Linked DNA regions of Homo sapiens: all the other regions are linked to region 3. Evidence: promoter capture Hi-C in 16 types of primary human blood cells and fetal thymus (Javierre and others, 2016). All regions are on one chromosome and are shown on one strand. The core of a region is centred on a gene start or on the middle of the fragment in contact, and the rest is flanking DNA. Distances in the headings are between cores, read along the strand shown. Region 1 has its middle 13 kb from the start of NGDN. Region 2 overlaps SLC7A8 (solute carrier family 7 member 8). Region 3 holds the start of PSME2 (proteasome activator subunit 2).

What was found. Contacts are between HindIII fragments. The CHiCAGO score rates a contact against its expected background, and 5 or more counts as called.
Region 1: a fragment that was not itself captured here is called in contact with the fragment with the promoter of PSME2 in region 3 in 1 of 17 cell types (naive CD8 T cells); the score reaches 6.1 in naive CD8 T cells.
Region 2: a contact is called between a fragment that was not itself captured here and the fragment with the promoter of PSME2 in region 3, in 1 of 17 cell types (M0 macrophages). The highest score is 5.0, in M0 macrophages.

Annotation. Positions count from the first base shown.
Region 1 is chr14:23,480,698-23,485,346 of GRCh38, reverse strand. No RefSeq gene overlaps it. Among named protein-coding and RNA genes, the nearest start is that of NGDN, 13 kb to the right of the region's middle. RefSeq lists enhancers at 1,762-2,518, 2,519-3,276. The HindIII fragment of the contact is 5,436 bases long and covers 1-4,649 here.
Region 2 is chr14:23,161,923-23,166,707 of GRCh38, reverse strand. It overlaps SLC7A8 (solute carrier family 7 member 8), which reads left to right. Exons shown (of 11, transcript NM_012244.4): 2 at 168-372; 3 at 1,272-1,423. Among named protein-coding and RNA genes, the nearest start is that of SLC7A8, 19 kb to the left of the region's middle. The HindIII fragment of the contact is 1,337 bases long and covers 2,867-4,203 here.
Region 3 is chr14:24,143,205-24,147,859 of GRCh38, reverse strand. It overlaps PSME2 (proteasome activator subunit 2), which reads left to right and starts at 1,250. Exons shown (of 11, transcript NM_002818.3): 1 at 1,250-1,326; 2 at 1,620-1,652; 3 at 2,088-2,150; 4 at 2,395-2,481; 5 at 2,587-2,617; 6 at 2,705-2,802; 7 at 3,392-3,460; 8 at 3,601-3,668; 9 at 3,831-3,885; 10 at 4,189-4,275; 11 at 4,371-4,495. The coding sequence starts at 1,279. The coding sequence ends at 4,451. It overlaps RNF31 (ring finger protein 31), which reads right to left and starts at 362. Exons shown (of 21, transcript NM_017999.5): 1 at 1-362. The coding sequence starts at 161. MIR7703 (microRNA 7703) reads left to right here and starts at 4,295; the gene lies at 4,295-4,371. RefSeq lists silencers at 95-324, 355-444, 1,145-1,204 and enhancers at 286-580, 127-627, 765-834. The HindIII fragment of the contact is 5,988 bases long and covers 1-1,569 here.

The DNA of each region.
Region 1 (4,649 bases), core at 932-3,431, 660 kb after region 3:
GGAGACATTGGTTTCTAAGGGGTAGTAAAGGAAAAGTCAGACCTGGATGTGAGAGAAAACAAATTCTAATACCAGCTCTGCTAATGACTTATTTGAATAGGCTTAGATAAATCATTTCCCCCATAGGGCCTGTAAGCAAAAGAAAACAAAAATCAAACAATTTTAGCTACAGCAATGTAAGTATCTACAAAGAAAAATAGTTAAAACTCAATTTACTGCTCTCCCAAAGGATGCTAAAGCAGCTAAGTCTCTACCATTCACTGCAACAAATATTTATTGGATCTTGCTTTTTAAAAGAGGGACCTAAACAGAGATCACTGTCTACATTACATGAAACCATGACCCTAACTACAGTCCCCTGAATACAGCAAGAAAGATCTCTAAGAAAGGAAACAGGAAAATCAGCTGAGGAAATGAAGAGGCCACCAGCCTCTGCCTCCACCAACTCATGTATGCACCTTAGGAAGGCAGGAGAGGTAGGCAAGAAGACAGGGCTCCACAGGCACTTCCATGGCCCAGACAGTAAGGTGAGGGGTTGGTGTTCTAGTCCCTGCTTTTCACTGTGGCTCTGGCAAACTCTGCCTCTCCCCATAGTCCAGGAGTCAGTCTTGACTTACACATGCTGAGGAAATGGAAGCCAGCCATTCTAGGACTGCCACTTAAGCTAAGGAAGATCTCCTCCCACCAGGGAATCAAGGAAAGAGGTCCATATTGTGGCCTATTCCTAGTATATACAGAAGTCAGACTCAGCACTACCATCCAGGGAGTAACTGGATGCTACTAATTCATAAAGAATAATCCAATAAGAGAAAAATTAGCCATCCTAGAAATTGGATAACTTTACAATAAAAAACACTGCTGAATTAGCTGGTTGTGGGGTACTGGTCTCACAATGAAAGGTCTCCAAAATAAAGTTAAGAAGCGAGATGAGGCAAGAGCTAACAGTCTAAAGAGTTTGGGCATATTCTGGAAAGGCTAAGCAATACAGGGCACTGTGGGCTGAATGGGGCAACCAGGTAAATTCAGCTGTGATAAAGGAACAACATGGAATGACAAAAAAAGGAGGCAGACTACAAGAGTGAGCCAAGGTCCTGCAGCCAGAATTGTGCTCAGCAGTGACCAGAGAGCCAGGATGTCCATCACATAAGTGTCACAACTGTCCTGGAAAGAACCTTCTGAGGACACAAAAGATCAGTAACAGGACATCTCCTCCAGTCTTCAAAACACAGGATAACGAAAGTAGAGGTATCCTTAGCAATCTAATCCAAAAGTTTCTGGATGAGCCATTATTATCTGAATTCTTGCTATTCCCTAGCTCCCATTTTCCCAGCATGTAGAACCCAAATCTGTAGATTCAGATAACACAGGATCGATCGCTTGCCAAGTGAACTCTCCTTATCCAAATCCAGGAACTGAATAGATGCAGACAGCAAAGGATATCTTCTGTCTCCCATCATGTTTCCCCTGTAGAGCCTCGTCATTCTCCCACCTACTCTTCGGTACTGACCCCTCAGTTCTCCTCACCCTGTTCTCTTCTAAGCCACCCTCATCTACAGCCCCCTTTCATTGGGAGAGTCATCTGTAAGATGTCAGGGGTAGAACAGATAACGAAAAAGGGAGTAGGGAAGAGTGTAGATTTCAGGTAGGGAAGTGAGATGGAGATCCTGCAGACAGAGAAAGAGAGAGACAGAAAGCAAGAGAGCCGGAGCTGGGGGAGGGGAAGAAGATGGCACTGCGGAAAAAAGAGCGCCACAAAATTAATTTGAGGAAGGGAACAGTAGAGGAGACGTTGGTGGAATAACAATCAGGCAGTAGAGGGCTGGGGAAAGGGGGAGGGCGACAGGGTGGGGAGGAATGATGTTGGCCGGGAGGGCCCTGCCTGCAGAGCAACAGCAGCACCACCTATGGGTATGGTGAAGGGCTACAGGCTGCAACAAAAGAGGTTCCCGCCTAGGCATGGGAGTCTGGGGTGCAGGTGGGGAGGAAGAAGCCATGGCTTTTGCCATTCAAATCTCTTGGTTACACAACATGCAGGCTAGAAGAATAAATAGTATATGGCTTTCCTGGGAAGAGAGGGACTTAAGGTAAGGGAGGGAAGACAGAGAACTCCTGGCTTTTTCCATTACAAGGGGGTTTCCCCTTCAGAATTCAGGCAGTAGAAAAGAGAAGAATATGAAGAGGGAGGAACACCAGGTACTGAAAGGAATGTGAGCACCTGCTTATTTCATTACCTGGAGAAAGGATTTTTATCTTTATTTCCAAGTGATTTCCTCTCCCCACTGGATATAAGAGAATACAGCTGCCTCCCTGGGGCCATGAATGCCCCTCACTCAGCTGCTTCCTCCCAGCACTGCCTCAAAACTCCCAACCACCATTAGAAACCCCCAGGGAGCCACCAAGGTCTAAGAAGGAAAGAAGGGAAGGGTTCCCCCCACCAAACAGACCAAGTGGGGGAGGACAGGGTGGAATGAAAGAGAGAATGCAAAAGCTCTGCAGAGGGAGGGGAGAGAGAAATGTGATCAGTAGTATTTGTTGTGCTTCCAGGGAGGAAGGATCTGTCACATTTTTAATAATAATAAATACATGAAGACAGATTTGCCAGCACTGCTCTGGCTTCTTGGGAAGTGTGGGGGAGGGGAAGTAATGCAGCTGCAGCACACACCAATATCTCCCCCTCCCCTCCCCCATTAGATAGGCTCAGTATTGCAGCAGCCTCCCCCTCCCCCTCTAACCGCAGTCCTCCCCTTCACAGCCCACCCTTTCCACGGTCCCGTCACACAGTTCTGCCCCTCCTTCCCCTACTTGTATCTCTACTCACTCCAACCCCACTCTGTCCTTTCAGTGCTGGTCCTCATTTAACACATGCTTACTCTAGCTGGAAGAAACCTTAGCACCTACATCTTAGATGAATGAATCTGTTCCCCCAATCCTGAGGCTCTGCTGTTTCCAATCAGTGCCCTTCACTAGCTGACAGCAATCTTCCCCTACACCCCACACAACACTCCCACAGATGTAATCCAGCACATTTCAGCATTTCCTGGATTCCACCAAAAAGGATTGCTTTTCTCCCCGTTTTAATCTCAATGTGACCTCCTTTCTCACATCCTTCCTTAAATATAATGGCCATCAAATGTGTTTGTGTTTAGGGGGTGTCAGGGCCTCAGGACTCAGTGACTACTGCCACCTATTGACCCAAGTTTGTTCACGATAGACCTTTAATACACTTCTTACACAGCGACGCTCTGTCATCTCAAAAGCATCAATAGCTTAAACATGCAAAGGCATGGCTCTGGGGGCTTCTCTGAGACCCTCTGAACAATGAGATCAAAGAAACACAAAAGCAAGACTGGGCAGAGAGCCAGAGCATTGATGCCTTTCCTCATGCAGAGGCAGAAAACGAGGCCCAAGGAATGAAAAAGCAACTTTAAGTCCCCTCAAGGTTCTCTAAGCAAAGATGAGTAGGGAACAGAGTTTTTCTTAAGGGCTGGTAAAAATTTCATGTATCATAATATAAATGATAAATGATGTTACCAATGGAGCAGGAGGCAGGATTCCACTCACATACCTCCATCAAGTTAGCCAAATCCTTGGCATGAATCTGGGATTTATGGACCTAAAAGATTCCAGGGAGGATGGGGGACACTCAGGGGTGTGTTTGACTCTCATCCAATCTGTACCAATCAGAACTGGAGACTGGACAAACTGGGCTCTGAAAAAGGGCAGGTCTACACCACGCAGCTCTATGGTTTAGCTGTGTCCCATTCACCAAACCAAGGAATGAGGAGCGTTTGAACTCTCCATGGTGCTGAAAATTGACACACTAATAATCTCCCCTGCAAACAAAACACAGTTTTCCTAATAAGGTATCTATGAAGACTGTTGTGAATTCCCAATAGACATTTCCCCAAGCCTTCATAAAATCCTAACAAAACAATGATTTTAAGGCAAAGACAGACCTTGGTCAAACTCTCTTCCCTGTCCCCTAAGATGAAAAGAATGAGGCAGAGATGTAAATTACTTCTACAGAATAAAGCTATCACATGACAAAACCATCACATGATAAAACCAAACAGGTAAGGTGCTCATGTGTGCATTAATGACAGCTATTACTTAGTGAACACCAGAAATGATCTGTTGTCAGCAATACACTGAGGAAATCCGATATTCATATGGTCTGAATAATCAGATAACTGAATCTATTAGTAGGAATAAGGGAAAGAAAAAAAGTGACCAGAACAGCCATAACGAAATCCTAAAATTCTAGTTCTTAGTTCCCTTGTTCTACTACCCTAACAGTTGTTTTCAAACTATATTCTAAGGAATTCTAAAGGTTCCTTGGGGGCTCCTCAGGAATCTTGGGGAAAGGGGGTCATAAGAACATGGAACTTCAGGACCCCTCATTCCCACTTCAATCAAAGTAACCCCACTTATGCTTGTTTTACATATTGAGAATCCATGTAATACTCCATCAAACAATACACTCTAAACAGTGTTTGATGACTCTGGTACAAATATTCTCAGAAATAGTTCAACTTTTTACCAGAAACTTCTTTCAAATAATGCCTAAAAGCCAGGGAAAACAAAATGTCCTGGGATTAAAGACTTGATTGAATTAATATAAGGTCCACAAAGGCAGGGATTTTGTCTGC
Region 2 (4,785 bases), core at 2,286-4,785, 980 kb after region 3:
CCCTACTTCAGGGAGAATTATTGCTAGGCACACCTGCCTGCAGATCATTTACATATATCCAAGGCATTTCAGAATCAGATCAGAAATGAGACCACCCTCCAAATGCCAATCCTGCCAACCGTCCTGTCTCTACTGTCTCCCCTCCTTACCCTTGGTGCCTCATGCAGGGAACATCATCGGCTCTGGAATCTTTGTCTCGCCAAAGGGAGTGCTGGAGAATGCTGGTTCTGTGGGCCTTGCTCTCATCGTCTGGATTGTGACGGGCTTCATCACAGTTGTGGGAGCCCTCTGCTATGCTGAACTCGGGGTCACCATCCCCAAATCTGGAGGTGACTACTCCTATGTCAAGGACATCTTCGGAGGACTGGCTGGGTAAGAGGATCTGTGGAGACCTGAATGGTCTAGGGGAAAAGGAGGAAGACATTCAGAAGGAGGTCAGATTGGAAAAAGCCAAGGCCAGGGGTTTCCAGTCTCCAGTGTGCCACGGGGTGCTAGTGAATGGAATGTCTCTTCTGCTTTCCTGCCATGGTTGCTAGTGTAGCCTTGTATCCCCTTGAGGCTCCCGATAATGATGGAGGACCAGGTTTGTAGTTTTGACCTCTATGTTGATCTTAGTGGGAAGGAGTCTATGAGTGAGAGCAAACAGAACTGTGTAACAACACTGACCATAGATTCCCAGAGAAAGCACATCACAAAAACAACGCCCTTCTATCTTGACAAATGAGAGTGGCCAGCTAAGGTAGAGTGCACCCTCTTCTCACACTACCAAGGATAATGGCCTCCCTCTAGAGCTGGGCCCTAATCTTAAATTTCCTCAATTTCTGCATCCCTGCCATTGGTAAACCCTCACCAATGGGCCAAAAGGTGTGGAAGGCGCTTCCCCTGCAAACCCCCACTTGATACCTCTCCTGATTATTGCTTACGTAACCACACCCTTAGTATGTCCTGTCTATCAACATTCTGGGGTTGCAAATTTTGTTTTTCCACCATTGGATGCTGGTGGCCACAGTGATGGAGAAGAGATCATGAAAGGAGAGGAGAGAAAGGAAGAACGCCAAGACTTGTGTTAGTGCTTGTGGAAATTTAACTCTTCATTAAACCATTTTATTGTCACTGCAGAGGGCTGGGTGTCTCATTTGTGGGTGGGGGCAGAGGCTGGGCTCTTCAGCATCCTTGAAAATAAAAAAGAGATGCATGACTTGCCCGGGCTCTCCCCTGATGGCTCTGCGTCCCTGCCATGCCTTTCGGCGGATGTCCCTTTCCTCCTTCAGGTTCCTGAGGCTGTGGATTGCTGTGCTGGTGATCTACCCCACCAACCAGGCTGTCATCGCCCTCACCTTCTCCAACTACGTGCTGCAGCCGCTCTTCCCCACCTGCTTCCCCCCAGAGTCTGGCCTTCGGCTCCTGGCTGCCATCTGCTTATGTAAGTGTCATCTGGGTCTTGGTAGCAAGACAGCCTCTTTTATTATATTTATTATTATTATTTTTAGAAACAGAGTCTTCACTCTGTCACTCAGGCTGGAGCGCAGCCGCATGATCATAGCTCACTGCAGCCTTGAACTCCTGGGCTCAAGTGATCCTCCTGCCTCGGCCTCCCAAAGTGTTGTGGTTACAGGTGTGAGCCACTGCACCCAGTCTGAGGGACAGCCTCTTTTATCCTCCCTGGAGGTCTACATGTCTCTGACTCTCCTAACTTCTCTCCATTTTTTTTTTTTTGAGGCAGGGTCTCACTCTGTCACCCAGGCTGGAGTGCAGTGGCGTGATCTCCACTCACTGCAACCTCCATCTCCCAGATTCAAGTGATTCTCCCACCTCAGACTCCCGAGTTGCTGGGATTGCAGGCGTGAGCCACCATGCCCGGCTAATTTTTGTATTTTTTGTAGAGATGGGGTTTCACCCTGTTGGCCAGGCTGGTTTTGAACTCCTGACCTCAAGTGATCCGCCCGCCTTGGCCTCCCAAAGTGCTGGGATTACAGGCCTGACCCACCTCACCCTGCCTCCTTTTCTTTTCCCCATTACTTTTCTTTCAATTTCCTACAAGTGTGTTTTTTATGAATGGATTCTGCATACAATTGTCTGGTGTTAAAAAAAAAAAAAGAAAGAAACTTAAGTAGCTCCTTGGAGGCACTATGATTTTCACTGGCAGGGTTCTTGACATTACGCAAAGCACTTTCACCTATATTATCTGATTTGGGCCTAATGACAAGTCCATGAGGTAAGCTGGGCCAGTGTTAACATTTTCCCAGAACAGATAAGGAAACAGAGAGCCAGGCAAATGACTTGCCCAGGGAGGCAGGCCACGTGGAGTGCAAGGGCTCCTGATTTCTTGTCTGTCCAGTGCACTGCACTGTGCTGGCTACTCCCAGCTGCTCCTAGGAAGATTACTCTGGCTTCTTGGCAGTAGGTCCACATCTACTTCTACCTCAACTTGTCAAGTCACACTCTTTTAACTCTCTTGGAGAAGGGTTTGTCCATGATCCCTGCCCTTGATGAGTTTTCTAACTAGGAGAAAAGCCATATAGACAGATACTGTGGTTAGGATTCAATTGCAGTAAAAATTCAGAGAAGGGAGCTAGGCATGGTGGTGTACACCTGTAGTTCCAGCTACCTGGGAGGCTGAGGTAGGAGGGTCGATTGACCCTGGGAGTTCTGGGCCACAGTGAGCTATGATTACACCTATGAATAGCCACTGCACTCCAGCCTGGGCAACATAGTGAGATCCTGTCTCTAAAAAAAAAAAAGAAATTAAAAACAACAATAACAATAAAATTCAGAGAAGGGGAAAAGATCTCTGTGGGCTGGAATAGGTTAGAGAGGCTTCCTAGAGAAGTTCTGCAGAGCCGTATTTCTAGGAAGTCTCAAAGCTTTATCTCTGATATTAGTCATCTCAATGGATTGGGGTATTTTACATCTTTAATCAAAAACTAATTTCTAAAGTAAATACTTAGATATGTTTCAGGGGCTCCACCTCTAGGGTTCACTGGGTCCCTGCCTTCCCATAGCTTCTAACACACATACACTTAGCTGAGGGCAGTGATCATCCTGGCCATATGCTTTCCCAGGTCCTGACACTTTTCCTTCTGTCCTGTTACGGGATGGGGGAGGAAGAGATCACTCACCCACCTCAGTAGCCTCTTACAGGGCAGGCAGCTGGGACCCAAGAGGCGGTCTCCTTGGCAAGTGAGCCCTCTTTGGCAGTGCTGGTCAACCCTGGGACAGACCTCCACCACCCAGGCCATTTGCAATATGGGGCCAAGACATTTGTTTGGGGGTGTATTCCTTGTGTTTGATCAGGCCTGCTCACAGATCTGGAGGCAGAGGAATGCAGGCTCCAAAACCAGGCTGCCTGCGCCTGCATCTCCAGTCCACCATTTCTAACTGCAGTGGTGAGTGCTGGGCAAAATCACTCGTCCACCCTACTGTGAGATGGGGAGTGTAATCCTAGCTGCCTCAAGAGGTCGTGGTCACAAGGACTGCAAGAGAGAAGGAAGGGGACACCCTCAGCACAGTGTTAGACACCCAGCACCCCAGTCATATCAGTCACTGGGGGTGGGCAAGATGCTGGGGCCACTTTATCCTTGCATCCTAGCTGGATCCAGAGTTGAGATGGGGAGCGGGGAAGAGCGAGGGCGTGGGAATGCAGGAAGAGTGCTGTTTCTGCCATCAGATCAGCTAATGGGAGGGTGGGAGGCAAGGCCACAGAAGTGCTAGCTACTGCTGTTTTGGTGTTTCTTTGCACACAGACAGCTTCCTTTTTCCTGCTGATGCTGCTAAAGTGTCTCAGACAAGAGGCCACCCTTACCCTTCTACTAGAAATCAAGAACCCCCGAGGCTGTTCAGTTTGCACCCTAGGAGAGGAGCCAGGCCACAGGTTGAAGAAGTTCCCAGGCAGCCAGACCCCATGGCTTTCTTTGCATTCCCCAAATCTGCCAAGGGTTTGACCTCTTGCACAAAGACCCTCCAAAGTAGTGTAGCCTTTTTGGCGTCCCCTCGGACCAGAAAGGTCCAAACTCTCCTAGGAGATAAGAACGCCACCTGCCTGTAGCCCTGCTCCAGAATGACATGTTGCACAGTCCTCTCCACAGCCTTCCCCTCACCTAGACACTGCAAGGACCAAGCCAAGGAGAAATTTAGAAACTGGCTGATGACAAAAATGACAAGACCCCCCTCCTCTATTCCTGTAGTCAAAGATTCAATAAAGCTTATCTAAGTTTGGCCTCTGCCTTCTCAGCAGAACTGCAAGGAAATTATCTCCAACTTAACAGTAGCCAATCTTGTCCTCTAAAGACAGGAATTTTCAATGTCCTTGAAATATGGGTTCAAATATTTGTCTACCTTCATAAGCAGAAAAATCTTAAATCCTTCTTATTCCCAAGCGTAGTCTTCCTTATTTCCTTTAGGGGAAATGGAAACCAGCTCCACACCTGTCCCGCTGCAGTGTCCCTTTCCTCCTAGCTGTGAAGGCCATGTGGAGCTGCCATCCCTCTGCCCGGCAGGGTGCACACGTACATGCATTAGCTATAACAAACTTCCTCTCTCCCTTTCCTTATACCTGACACTCCCAGCTGCTTTGAGTCTGTGTACAGAGGTTCTGTTTTCCGGTTTGTTGAATACTTTTTTTTTTTAATCCACTTCTATAGGCCCCTCAAATCCTCTCTTCTTTTTTTGAATTTTATGGCAGGCCATACCAGATAAGCATCCAATCCTCTCATACGGTATTCAGTAAAACAAGAACCAAGCTGTCAGGAAGGCTTGGTAGATGCTTTTTTTTTTTTTTTTTTTAGA
Region 3 (4,655 bases), core at 1-2,500:
GCGGCGTCCAGCTGCAGGTAGCGGGCGGCTAGCGGCAGAGAGCTGGCTAGTAGCGGCCGGAGCTGCTCCAGGGAAAACGCCTGCCCGGAATCCCTCCTCAGGGCGCTCGCCAGCTCCTCGCGGGCCACCAGGAAGGCCCGCTCCTCTTCCTCCCCCGGCATCCTGAGGCAGGAGTCAGCCCCAGCCTCGCCGCCCGCCAGGACCCGGCGCGGGCAGCGCGCGGCCCGAGCGCCGCCCCTCCCGTCTGGTGCCCGGCTTTGAGGCCCACCCCGGCCCACGCAGCCGCCCCAGGTCACTCAGACCACGGTCACTCTCCAGCCCCCGGCCCAGCGCCAGGGTTAGCCGAGAACAGGAAGTACTAGGAGAGAGGGTGGGACTGCGACCCAATTTCGGAGGAACGGGCGGGGCTTAAGGTTAAGGTTGGAGCGGTGTCAGGAAACCAGGGGGCGCGGCCAAGAGGGAGGGCCAGGTCCCAACCAATGAGAAGGCAAATGGCTCCTGGCTCCTCCCTCAGAGCGCGCCAGCATCTTCCCTCAGTCAAGCGCTCTTCCCCGCCTTCCCCCAATCTGGTTCCACCCCTTCCGGATAGCCGCAGGCGCGGGGTTATCCTATTCAGCTCAAAACCTTTCTTTTTCTAGCTGGACCAGTCCGGTACGCTCCGGGCCTCACCGAGGAAGTCCCACCCTGCAGGGGAACCGACTCTGGCCGGCCCTAACCCCTCTCGAGCGAGTCCCGCCCCATCTCCGGTCTGTCCTGAAGGCAGAGGGAAGACCCTCACCCAACCCCTGCCCGCTCTCTTCTAAGAGCTGCTAGTCCTTCTCCACCCCAGGCGCTCCCTCTGGCTGCCCCTCCCACTCGCTCTGATCTCTCTCCGTCCGCTACTTGCGGTCGAGCCTTCTTGGGGGAGCCCCGCCACTGAATACCCCCTTTGCCATACTCCCACCTCTCTTACCCCAACCCTGGACTTCCAGTTGGCCCTAGCTATAAGCCCCGCCCCTCTCCGAGGGACAGCCCCCGCTCCAGTCTCCGCGGTCCCACTTACCCTAGCCCCTCCCTCGGGCAGCCCCTGGACTGTGACCCAGCCAGCACCGCCTCTCCTAGTGGCAACTGGCTGGGAATGGCTGAGGGGCTACCTACTGCTTGCGGCCTGCCAGCGGGAGGAGGGGGGCGGAAAGAAGAAAGGGGGCGGGGTTGAGGGGGGCGGGCCTGGACCTGGGGAGTGAAAGCGAAAGCCCGGGCGACTAGCCGGGAGACCAGAGATCTAGCGACTGAAGCAGCATGGCCAAGCCGTGTGGGGTGCGCCTGAGCGGGGAAGCCCGCAAACAGGTAATGGGGAATCGGAGGCCAGGAAGGGGTCATAGAACCCTCTTGGGTGGAGGCCAAGCTGGGTGGTTCAGGGGACCAAGCAGTGCCAGAGAACTCCCCCAATCTCGCTAGTGCCTTCACTTCTCGGGGATTCCCAGATTCCTGCCTTCTGACTGCAGTGAGCAGGAGCTTCCAGGGAAAGCTAGTTTGTGGTGAGAAAGGCCTGAGCCACAGTTCGAGGGCACCCTGTTGTGGGTGGAAGCTTTTGACAACCCAGACCCTTAACCAACATCCGGGTACTGCTCTCTGTGTAGGTGGAGGTCTTCAGACAGAATCTTTTCCAGGAGGTAAGTCTCTGGATTTGAGCGATTTGACCCAGAATCTTGGACCAATACTTGAGGATAACAGCCTCTCAGAATGACCCCCCCAAGTCACCCTAGACTTAACCCTACTTCCCTTACCAAGCCTTCACCCAAAGTAACCCCGGAATTATTGATAGCTACCTTTAATCTGACCTTTCTTATGACTCTCCCGACTTCTGGCACTTCTCCCGTCTTTTGATGTGGAGGAAAAAAACCATGGCTTCCAAAGCAGGAATATCACAGTCCTAACCTTCGTTCTGCCATTTACCAGCTTGGGCAAGTCCTTTCATTTTCAGGTCTTCAGTTTCCTCATTTGCAAGTCTTGGACCCAGTGATTTCCAAAGGCCCTTCCAGTTCCATTTGTCAGACATCTCATTGAGCATATTCTGTGATTCCCCTCCCTTGCAATGTAACCCACAGGCTGAGGAATTCCTCTACAGATTCTTGCCACAGAAAATCATATACCTGAATCAGCTCTTGCAAGTGAGTAGTGTGGGCCCCTTCTGCCCCATCCTATGTCCTCTATCCCCTTTGCCCACCCTCTCTAGCTAACAACTGGATTCAGCATGCAGAGAATAGTTTCAAATAGTGGATTAGGAACATTAGGATGGCGTGAGGCATGAGCCTAGGTTGGGAGGCAGAGTGCAAGTGGGATGTATGGAGGGAAGGCTGTGACCTAGGATGAAGGGAAGAGGTTGGGCAGCCCTTGACAGTGAGCTCTGTGCAGGAGGACTCCCTCAATGTGGCTGACTTGACTTCCCTCCGGGCCCCACTGGACATCCCCATCCCAGACCCTCCACCCAAGGATGATGAGGTGAGGCACTCAGGGTGCAGGACTTGGACTATAAACCCAATGGAGAAGATAGCCCTTCAACCTCTGTGACTTTTCTAAAGCTACTTTCCCCCCTTTTTGCCTTAGATGGAAACAGATAAGCAGGAGAAGAAAGAAGGTAAGAGAGATAAGAGGTGACTAGGGAAGGGGTGATGGCACACTGACTACTGGATGAGAAAGGGCCTGAATCCCCTCTTTCTCACAGTCCATAAGTGTGGATTTCTCCCTGGGAATGAGAAAGTCCTGTCCCTGCTTGCCCTGGTTAAGCCAGAAGTCTGGACTCTCAAAGAGAAATGCATTCTGGTAAGCCTGGGAAATGGGGGAAGCAGAAAGAGAAGACACACAAGGTGAGGCCCTGGACTCCTCCGTAGATACAAGTCCTTCATACAGAGACCTAGTCCTGAAAAAGAAAACTTCCTTCTGTGCCTTGGGCTTAGATCCCCTTTGTTCTCCTCGTTCTGTTAGACCTCTCTTATCACAACGGTACCCCCAAAATTAGAGACTGTGCAGTATCCACTCTGTAACCTCAGAACCTACTGCTGTATTGGGTTCATAGTAGAGGTGGTATGATATAGTGAGTGAATTGTTTTAAAAGATTGGACCCTAGAGAGAGACTGCTTAGGTTCAAATCGTGATTCTATCAGTTACCTAGCTGGTAGCCTTAAGTAAGTCACTTAGACATTCTGTGACTCAGTTTTTTCATCTGTTAAATGGGTACAATAAATACATATCTCTGAAGGTTGCTGTGATGATTACATGAAATAAATACATGGCACAGTACCTGGTATGTAATAAGTACCCAATTAAATATAACTTTTTTTAGGAAGTGACAGTAATAGGAAGAACTCAGTATGTTTGTTGAATGATTCTTACATGATACCTCTTAACACAGGTGATTACATGGATCCAACACCTGATCCCCAAGATTGAAGATGGAAATGATTTTGGGGTAGCAATCCAGGTAAGAAAAGGGTAACTGAAGATACTTAGAGTGGGGAGAGCCTCAGGGGGTGAGCTAGACATGAACCAGGAGGAGGAGGAAGATAGTGTATGAAATGGGGAGGACATGAAGTGTTGTCTTTGCCTCCCGTGTCACCACAGGAGAAGGTGCTGGAGAGGGTGAATGCCGTCAAGACCAAAGTGGAAGCTTTCCAGACAACCATTTCCAAGTGAGGGCAGCTGGAGGACCAGCATTGGGGGCAGTAGGAGCATTTCTTTGGGACCCCCAGAGCTGGGCAGCCCTATCAGGATGATGGGAGACTTTGGGAAGGGTCTGAGGGAGTACATCTCCCTGAACACTCATTCCTGTGGTATTCCCTTGCTTCTGGCAGGTACTTCTCAGAACGTGGGGATGCTGTGGCCAAGGCCTCCAAGGAGACTCATGTAGTGAGTGGATAGTCCACCAGCCTTTTAGCTGGGTGTGGGACGAGGAGGTGTGGAGGAAGAAGTCCTCCTTGTCTTGTTTGTGACTTTCCCAATGTGGAGAATATTAAGCTAAAAGCATTACCTAGAAAAACTGGTTTGGGCTTCAACAACCTTGACCCTTTTCTCTGCTCAGTCCTTTGGGATCCTATTTCTTGGTGCTAAGAAGGGGTTCATTCTCAAGTTAACCTATTTCCTATAAAAGGAAACCAGACTCATGTCCCAGCCTCCCATGGGACTGACTCAGCTTTGCCTCCCACATTGCAGATGGATTACCGGGCCTTGGTGCATGAGCGAGATGAGGCAGCCTATGGGGAGCTCAGGGCCATGGTGCTGGACCTGAGGGCCTTCTATGTGAGTGTGGAGTAAGGCTTTAGGGGAGGTGGATGAGTGGGGGCAGGCAGGGGATTGGCTAAGAACCTGACTCTTGCACTCTGGCCTTCTCCCAGGCTGAGCTTTATCATATCATCAGCAGCAACCTGGAGAAAATTGTCAACCCAAAGGGTGAAGAAAAGCCATCTATGTACTGAACCCGGGACTAGAAGGAAAATAAATGATCTATATGTTGTGTGGATTCCCTTCTGGCGTGTGTCATTCATTCAAAAAGCATTTATTGAGTGGCACCTATGTCCAGCCTGAAGATGAATGTGGTGGGAAGGGGTGGGTGTCACAAAGACAAAGATGACTTAGATGCCCACTGTAATCTTGACTGTGAGAAAGAGGGGATTCAGGCC